Linked DNA regions of Homo sapiens: region 2 is linked to region 1. Evidence: promoter capture Hi-C in 16 types of primary human blood cells and fetal thymus (Javierre and others, 2016). All regions are on one chromosome and are shown on one strand. The core of a region is centred on a gene start or on the middle of the fragment in contact, and the rest is flanking DNA. Distances in the headings are between cores, read along the strand shown.

Evidence for each region. Contacts are between HindIII fragments. The CHiCAGO score rates a contact against its expected background, and 5 or more counts as called.
Region 2: a fragment that was not itself captured here is called in contact with the fragment with the promoter of EMID1 in region 1 in 1 of 17 cell types (erythroblasts); the score reaches 5.3 in erythroblasts.

Annotation. Positions count from the first base shown.
Region 1 is chr22:29,202,849-29,207,870 of GRCh38, reverse strand. It overlaps EMID1 (EMI domain containing 1), which reads right to left and starts at 1,975. Exons shown (of 15, transcript NM_133455.4): 1 at 1,732-1,975. The coding sequence starts at 1,832. It overlaps LOC101929638 (a long non-coding RNA gene), which reads left to right and starts at 2,039. Exons shown (of 5, transcript XR_938134.3): 1 at 2,039-2,400; 2 at 2,550-2,711. RefSeq lists silencers at 1,541-1,600, 1,621-1,780, 1,791-1,880, 4,808-4,927. The HindIII fragment of the contact is 3,358 bases long and covers 1-2,336 here.
Region 2 is chr22:29,072,877-29,077,334 of GRCh38, reverse strand. KREMEN1 (kringle containing transmembrane protein 1) reads right to left here and starts at 4,300. Exons shown (of 9, transcript NM_001039570.3): 1 at 4,108-4,300. The coding sequence starts at 4,204. It also overlaps a transcript of C22orf31 not described here. RefSeq lists a silencer at 4,282-4,458. The HindIII fragment of the contact is 566 bases long and covers 2,304-2,869 here.

The DNA of each region.
Region 1 (5,022 bases), core at 726-3,225:
CGACAACCTCTTTCCCTCTTCCAGCAAGGCTGCTGGAGAGAAAAAGCCACTGGATTTGGAAATCGACTGGTCTGGACTGAGGTGCCACTTGTCCTCTGTAGGCCTCAGCCTCCGTATCTGTACAATGGGTGCAATAGTGTTGCCCACAGGGTTTTTGGGATGCTCAGGCTACTGTGATAGGCTTCTGTCAACACATGGAGTGACAGTCCCCAGTGACCACCAGATACCTGGTTATAGCCATCATCCTGTTCCCACCCAGGAGACCCTGGGAGGTGAGGAGCCCAGGCTGGGAAGCCCTGCCTTGAACTGGCTGCAGGGCGGTCTGGGCCTTAAGCTGTCGCCACCATCATCCTGAGCCTAACAGTGGGATTTCTGAGTTCATAGTCTCTGTCCTCTTAGCATCTGGGATCCTGGCGGCTCACTTCCATGCTCTGGGCAGGTCATGTTCCCTCTCTGAGCCTCATCTTCCTCCTCTATGAAACAGAATCATAAAGAGCATACCTCCAAGCAGCTGGGAGGATTCTGGAGCTGATGAATGCAGGTAACGGAGCCGACTCAGGCTAACTGTTGTCTGCACACAATAGGTGGTGGCTGTAACATCTGCCACACGTCCACCCCTGTCTCAGACAACTGCTCTTCTGGCCTCTGATGCTTCAACCACCTCCGTCCTCCAGCCCTGCCCATGTCAACTGCTCTTGCTAGCCCAGCAGGGGCATGCTGGCCCCTGACCACTGGGAAAGGAGAATTTCTGAAAAGAATTAAAGAATTGAGGCCGTAGGGGGTGGGGGCCGCGCAGGCCTTTGAATGGGATGAAAAGGCCTGGAGAGGCCTGGCTACTCCACATTGTCTGCCTTGGACAACGGCGGCTGGCCTTTAGGAGGGGACCCTCGCTGGGGCTGCAGCCAGGACAGAGGCCAGGACAGGTTCAAACACTGTCATCAAGGATAGAAGGGCAGATTTGCAACCTAGCTCTTCAGTGAATAGCCCATGAGGCTAAAAGATGATGCCAATTCCCTAGGGTCTCAGTTTGCTTAACCGTTGAATGGGGACAGTTTTCCCTACCTCATTCGGTCCTTCAAGGATTGATGAGGACACTATATATAATAATGGGCCCCACCATGTCAGGTTCTGGGAGCTCCTCCGTAAAGGCCAGCAGGGAGGAGGTTCCCCGCCGCTAGGAGAGCAGAAGGAAGACTGTGCTCCCTCTTTTCTCTGTCCAAAATGCCAGGTCCCTGGGGTATCTCCGACACTGACCCACTGGGCTGTGAGACTCCACCCCAGTCCCTCCTCCGAGGGAGATAAATAGCCTGGGTACAAAACAAACAAACAAAAAACAAAACAAAGCAAAAAAACAGGAACAGGGAAAAGGGGAGAGAGGGTCCGAGAAGAGTCGGCTAGGGGGTGTCATAGGCCTTTCCCAAGTGCAGGGGGAGGGGCCCTAGGGACAGGGGAACAGAAGGGCCAGGGCTTCGCCCTCGTTGCGCCCCTTCCCCCTCCTCTCGAGCTCCTGGGTTGAAAGGGAGGGAGTAGGGGAGGCAGCCAGCTCCGACACATGGAGTAGGGGACCCCGCACTCGCGGGAGCCTCAGCCGGACCGCGGGATGGCCGTGTCCCTGCCCTCACCCGGGCTGGGGACTGGATCGCCCTCCAATCCCAGCCCTTCCTGGAGGTGGGGGCGTGTGCGCGCCGGGACCCTCGGCCAGCGGGGTGCAAAGGCGCCGGGAGCTCTTACCTGCGTCCGGAGAACGGAGCTGCCCCGATGCTCCACGCAGCGCCGCCTCCCGGGAGCAGGAGCCCGAGGCAGAGCAGCGCCCAAGCCCGCGGGCCGCCCATGCTGCACCAGGCGCCCTCCGCGCGCGGCCCCTCGCGGTCGCCGCCCCCAGCCTGTCCTCCCCGCCTGCCTGCCCGCGCCGCCAGCCGCCCCGGACGCGCGGAGCCCGGTTTCCAGCTCCGCGGCCGGAGGGCGGGCAGGAGGCGGGCGGGCGGGGGCGGGGGCGCGCGCTCCCGGCCTCGCCCGGCCCCTCTGCGCTGCCCCCCGCCCCCTGCGCCGCCGCTGCCAACCCGGAAGGAGCCCGGAGGGGCCCGGGCGGCCAGGGCGCCCCCGCCAGGAGGCCCGCCAGGTGTCCACCTGAGCCCCACGCCCTGCGCCGCGGGGCCCTTTTGGGGGCGGGGTGCCAGCTCCGAGGTGTCCTCCCACGGGCTGTAGACTGGGAAACTGAGGCCCGGGCCACGGTCCCAGACGCAGCCGGGACCCGAACCCACCTCACCTGAGCGAATGATATCCGGGACTCATCCTTTTTCGACACCTTTGCGGGATCCAGCCCTCCAAGGAAAGCTTCCTGAGCAGTGCGCGCCACGTGTATTGGGCACCTCACCGCGGCCACTTCACATCCTATCTCAGGTGACTCTTCAAGCCACTCTGCTCGAACTGGGCACAATATCCCCATTTTACAGAAGAGAAAACTGAGGCCCAGGCACTCGCAGTCTCCCTAGGAGGAGATCTGGGCTGACCCCATAAGTGCAGAGTCTGTTCTTATTCTCATTTTACAGGTGGAGAAACTAAGCCACAGAAAGGAGCTGTCATTTACCTAAAGCACCGTGGCAGGGGTTTGGCAGAGCCAGGATTTGTACCCAGATCGCCTGACTTCGGAGAGTAACAGCTCTTAACCACAGCACTTCGGTCTATGCCTTGATTTCACCATATGTAACAAGGTAAGAATTGGTGTTGGGTGGTTTCATCTGGGGTACATGGATGGGCTTCTGGAGGAATGGCTCTACATCCCACAAAGGTATATGTAAGCGTAGTGTGTGTGTGCAGGGGTGCATGTGTGTGTCGTATGTGTGTATGATGGATGTGTGTGCATGCTTGATGTGGATTTATGTGCATGTGTGTTATGTGTGTGTCTGTGATAGGAGTGTGTGTTTATAGGGAGAGACCAGAGCTCTCATCAGAGGGGACCCAGACCCCCAATCTCCCAGGGCAGTCTCTAACCCCGCCTTCTGCCTGGATCGATGGGCAGTAGTTAGGCCTGGGCTGGGGAAGCCCTTGCCCAGCTTGGCTACTTCCTGTTATGGCTTGTCCAGACCCACGGTCCCTTCTAGAAACACTCCCCAGAAAGGATCTGCCAGTCACTGGATTGCCCCTCCTGGACTCACCAGGGGCAGGCAGCATAGGCCACCATAGGCAGGCAGGCAGGCAGGACGGGGGATCCATCACCAGTGTGTCCACATAGAGAAAGCTGTTGCCCTGTCCCAAGGGACAGGTAGTGAGAGCTGGGTTCAAACCCTGCCTCTGCTACTTCTGCTCCAGTTAGCTCAGGCAAGTCTTGCCCCTCTCGCAGCCTCAGTGTTTCTTTTGCAGGGAGGACAGTTGTACATTCGTTACAGGAGTGTGGGAAGGATTGAGATATCATGGTAATGGCCTGTCACCCACTCTCCCCTACTTCACATAGTCCCCCAAGGGCTCCCTCTCCCTCCAGCGACATCACCATGGTGCCAATGTTGCCCCCTTGGGGAGCTGTTGCCCTCCTTTTCACGTGAAATTTTGGCACATCTCCTGTGCCATCTCTCTGACCTCCAAGAAATGCAGCTTTGTACCTCTCTGGTTAGCCCTTGTTTTTGACACAGCTAGATCAGTGACTTAACACCCTGGATAATTCGTCACTCCTGAGGAGCCATGCCCCCAAGAGGATGCCAGGCCTGTCTGAAACCCCAATCAAGCGGCCCAGATAAAAACCCATCACCCCAGGGGTGCTTTGAGCTGTTTAGGAAGCTCAAACATGCAGCTGTTTAGGAAGGAGAAGCACTGGATAATGCCTTGGAGGGACTGAGAGGTGTCTAGGGTGTCAGATGGGTGCCACAGAATGAGGAGGCACTACTAGGTCTGTTTGCAACATGTCTGAGATGCTCCTGCGATTAATGGCATCCACATTTCTTAACCAATGCCATCAAACTTGTGGCAGACTCAGGCCGCTGCAGAATTTCCCCAGCAAGAGACTCTCCTGGTAAAAGCTGTTATCAACATTTTCACATCAGAGAGGGGCCTGTCCTTACTGAGGCTGGGATTCCCGGGTCCAGGGTATTTATTTATCACTGTAGACCCGGATAAATAAATATAGATTTATTTATCACTATTTATCACCTTGTGGCTGTGTGGCCTGATGGATACACCCCACAAGCCATGTGACCCATAGGCCAGGGTGTCAATTCCAGAGCAACCTCTGGGAGCTGTGTGACCCAAGACAAGTCACTTCCCCTCTCTGAGCTTCATTTCTTTGCCTGAAAAAACAAGCCATGGGATCTTCTTTTTTTTTTTTTTTTTTTTTTTTTGAGACAGGGTCTCACACTGTCACCCAGGCTGGAGTGCAGTGGTGCCATTTCCGCTCACTGCAGCCTCAACCTCCTGGGCTCAAGCGATTCTCCTGCCTCAGCCTCCTGATTAGCTAGGACTACAGGTGTATGACAGCACATCTGGCTCATTTTTAATATTTTTTGTAGACACAGGGTCTTGCTCTGTTGCTCAGGCTGGTCTCGAACTCCTGGCTTCAAGCAACCCTCCCACATAGGACTTTTAAGGTCCCTCTGGCTCAAGAGTCTGAGCTTCTGGGAAAGTGTGAAAACGTCAGGTCTCCCCTTCAGTGGCCCTGGGGCACAGCTGAAGCCCCCGTTTAAGGGCTCACTTTCCTGTTGGATGACAGCCGGCTTTCTGGTCCTCTTTCCTAGTTGAGTGGAAAGGCAGGAAATGCCGTGGGGGCCTGGGGTTTTGATTATTTGAGGTTTCAATGTTTGCTGAAACTGAGAGGAGAGGGGCCGGCTAGCTTGAGGTCTCAGGGCCTGTCCCTGCGGGCGGGGCCTCCCCCCTGGGGGCCTGGTCCTTTCCACTGCCAAGACGAGACCACAACCGCCAGTAACGACAGCAGCTTCCGTTCCCCATGCTGACTGTGCGCCAGGCGCTGTGCTAAGCGTTTTGCTTGTATTGTCTGCTGCGATCCTCTCTGCCACCCAGGAGGAAGCCTTATTGTCC
Region 2 (4,458 bases), core at 1,337-3,836, 130 kb after region 1:
TTTCAGTGTCCATAAAGCCTTACTGAAACACTGTCACACCCATTCATTTGTCTTTTGTCTGTGCTGCTTTTGCCCTACAGAGTTGAATAATTGCAACACAGATAGTATAAGGCCCATGAATCTCATATTATTTACTGTCTTCCTCTACAAAAAATGCTTGCCCACACCTGACCTAGATTATCAGTTGACATTTCCAGACTCAAAAATTCTAAACTAAGGATGGTATATTCCCCATCACCAAAAATCCCTAATCTGTATATTGTGAAGCTATTTAAAGCAATATATTTTATCTTACTCATTTATTGCTTTTGGTCTAACTATGCTAAACCATGAGTTTATCAATAATATCTGTATTGATATACAAGAAGTGCATCAACTTTCTGTTTATGAGTAGTGAGCCTAAAAGGAATGCTTTCTTGCTTTAAGATTTATAAAGGGACTCATTGCCTATCTCAAATACTTTTTATTTATTTGTTTATTTTGAAACAGAGTTTTGCTCTTATTGCCCAGGCTGGAGTGCAATGGTGTGATCTCAACTCACCGCTACCTCTGCCTCCTGGGTTCCAGCGATTCTCCTGCCTTAGCCTCCCAAGTAGCTGGGATTACAGGCACGTGCCACCATGCCCGGCTAATTTTTTGTATTTTTAGTAGAGATGGGGTTTCACCATGTTGGCCAGGCTGGCCTTGAACTCCTGACCTCAGGTGATCCGTCTGCCTTGACCTCCCAAAATGCTGGGATTACAGGTGTGAGCCACCGCGCCCGGCCTCAAAGATTTAAATGGTTTGTCTAGGGACTAAAGTATATTTTCACAAAAATATCAGAGGTCTTTGATAGCAGGTCGAAATGGTGTTTCTTAAAATACTCAGAGTATGCAAGTAACTGGTATGCACCCTTCACTCCTTCACTGCTTCAGCCCCCATGTCGCTTACAGGTAATTCTATTAGCATTAATGAAGTCCCCAAGAGAACCAAGAATTGGTAGACAGTATGAAGCTCTAGCTGTTAACTGAACTCATAGGTTTTAGGGCAAACACACTACTGGCTAGTGGGGCAAATTCCAGATGAGGAGGTAGAGGAGAATGAGCATCAGTCTATAAACTTATAAAAGGTATTCACAGCAAACATAACCTGAGTGGAGAAGCTCTGTTGATGTGCACCTAATAGACCCTAAAGGTAGTAAAATACTCAAGTGAGTAGACCATAAATTCCATAAATTCCAGATGGGACCTACTACAGAGAACCTCTCGACCACATGGCCCTGGTTGCACTCCTCCTTGAAGGAAAGTCTAGATTCCATTACCTTCTACTTTCCTTCTTATGAGTTGTGAAGGAAGGAAGAGAATCTTAGAGGAAGAATGAAAAGAAGGGAGATCATTTGGGGTTGGCTACACATTGTAATTAGAAGTAGGATTGATGGGGAATGAGCTAACTGTTTTTATAAAGTCAGCATTCAAAAATGCAAACCACCAGTAATTTAAATATTACAAAATTGTGCAGAATATAAATATTGAAATAATTTTTTCCATCCACAAAATTTTAGAGAAAATTACAGTATCAAAAAATATAAAATGGCAAGTTTGGCATATCCTCAGAGTAAAGTGTGTGTGTGTATGTGTGTGTGTGTATGTGTGTGTGTTTTATTGGGAAGGATTTTAAAAGCTAGTGAGTAGGATCTAGACAGGATGTGTTGGTGAAGACCATGGGGTATCTCCCTAAAATTGCTTCTGCAACTAGACAGGAAAAGTCAAAAAAGCAAAGCACTGAGTTATCAGGACGGTAAGGCACCAAGCTGGCAAGGCTCAGTGAGTTGGGAACTTGGGCCACTTATCACAAATTATTTCACAACGATTATTTGCCCCTACCCCAGACTCCTAAATAAAAGTACACCAAAATTTGGGGTGCAAACTTGATAAGAGATGCTGCATTTGACCTTAAAAAAGCAAAGATATCTGGGAAGAGACTAGCTTCCAACGAGCTTAAGGAGAGTTGGCTCACTTGATGCAAATCAGAGCTGCTGCTCTGCCCTTTCCAGAAGGGGAACCAGTCTATTTCCACCCATACCTCTCTCTTTGTAGGGGACATTAAACCCTGACCACACAGATAGCAAAGTGGAGCTAAGGGGTTACCAGGTTACAGTCATGTTGACATATCCTGGCTCTCGGAATGTCCCTCACTCCTCACAACAGTAGAAGTGATCATACTGTAGAAGTCCCATAAAAGACGGTGATCACTCAGAAACCACTTACTGAGCCTCAGGTTTACAACACTTGGAGACCCCAGTTCTACTAATTTAAAGCCAAGCTTAGCCTTTTACAGAAATGAATCAGACCGAAAGCTCTTAGCATTCCCAGGGTAAATGAGGTGTCTAGCACTCGATGAACTGTGAGGCCCTATAAAAGTATTATTAAAATATGTTTATTGACTCCCTCCTATATGCGGGTATGTTACCTACAGTATATCATTTAATCTTCACAACACTCTGCAAAGAAGTTATCCTGTCTTTACAGATGAGGAAACTGAGGCTCAGAGAGCTGAAGGCATGGCCCAAAGTCACCCAGTAAGTGACAACACCAAGTCCTAGCTTTTTCGCTAATCCAAGCCAATGAGTAAACAAAGCAACTCTGAGTTTTCTTACACCAGCAAAATCCCATCCTTTCCAACATCAGTCTGTGACTTTGGGTGGAGAACCCAGAGGCGGGTTTTCCTACTCCTGCAGACTGGTAATAAACTCTTCCCATCCCTTTCACAAATGGCCTATGCTCAACACCCAAACAGCCTGCAGAGAAATGCAACGCCCTCTTGCCTTCTCTTCCACTTAGAAAGGATTCGGCTACAAGGTTGCGTGTGGAAGTTAAGCAAAAGCCAAGCTTCATCCTGGTCCAGGGCCTCACCTCGGGAAGACCTGGCCTTGGCCTTGGCCTGGGTAGTGAGTGACCTGTCTAAGGTGTGGGCTGACCCAAAACACGGAGCTCGGCGTTGCACCCTCAGGAAGAGCACCCTAAACTCAGTTGGGGAGAAGTTTCCCATCACTGCTTCCTTTTTTCTCTCCCCCTTCTGCGCCATCACCTGAGTCATAGGGAAGTTCAAAGCGGCCCAGCGGAGAGAGAGGGCACGTCCCGTCCGTCTGGGTACAAGGTCGTCCCAGGACCCTAACCTGCCTCTAGCAGGGCGAACAAGTCCATCCCGTTCCTCGCGAGGCAGAAGTTATAATGTCCGCCAAGCGGGTGCAGCCGAGGACTCGGGAAAAGGGGCTGAGCGCCGGCTCCTCCCGCCTCCGCTCTGCTCTGCGCGGGGAGGCGCCGGGTTCCACCGGTGTAGGCGGGAGGAGAGGACTGGGGGACGCGGGGGCGTCGCAGTGAGGCTCAGGGAGGGGACCTTGGCCCAGGGGAGGGATGTCGCTGGAGGTCTCGGAGAGGGGCGTATAGCCTCTTGTAGCGGGGGAGTCGTCCCGGTGCAAGGTGCGTCGATGAAGGACTTGGGGCGGGATCCCAGGAGGTACTGGGGAGCAGGGGTCGTCCCGGCCCGGGAGGGGTCGCTGGGGACTTGGGGACGGGATCCCAGGAGGTACCGGGGAGCAGGGGGCCTCCTGGCCCGTGGGGAGTCGCTGGGGATTTTGGGACGGGATCCTAGGAGGTACCGGGGAGCAGAGGACGTCCCGGCCCGGGGGAAGTCGCTGGGGACTTGGGACGGGATCCCAGGAGGTACCGGGGAGAGGGGGCGTCCCGGCCTGGTTGGGGTCGCTGAGGGACTCGGGCAGCGGGTCCCAGATCCCGAGACAGAGAAGATGTCCCAGCCCGGGGGGCGTCGCAGAGGGTCTTGGAAGACTCAAGGCGGAGAGGGCCTCCTGGGCTGAGGGGCGTCGCTGAGGAGCACCGGGTCCTGCAGCCGGGGGACAGTACCGGGCCCGGGGGCGTCGATGACGGGCCTGGGGGTAGCCCGGGTCCCAGGAAGGGACCATCCCGGCCTGAGGGGCGTCGCCTAGGGGCGAGGGGAAGGGGCCCGGAAGGTCCTGAAGCGGGAGGGAGGGGGCTCTCAGGCCGGCCGGCCCTTGTCGCCCCTCGAGTGGGCTCCGCTCAGGGCGGGCGGCGGGGGGTCGCTCACACTCACCGGGTCCGGGGCCGAGGCCGGGGCTAGGCGCGGGCCGGGCCGCCAGCGTGAGCGCCGCGGCGGAGAGCAGGGCGAGGCGGGCGGCTGGCGGCGCCATGGGCCGTCAGTGCGGGGCCCCGGGGCGCGGCCCGGGGTAAAGGGGGCAGCGCGGGGAGCCGGGGGCGGCCATGGGAGCAGGACGCGGGGCCCGAGTGTAGCCCCGCCCCGGCCGCCCGGCCGCCCCGCCCCGGCCCGCCCAGCTCAGCGCCGCCACCGCCCCTGCAGCCTGGGGCCCGCCCGGATCCGCGGAGAGGCCCGGGGGGCGGAGCCCACTGCGCACGCACGCCCCGCCCCGGCCGCGCGCTGCTCCTG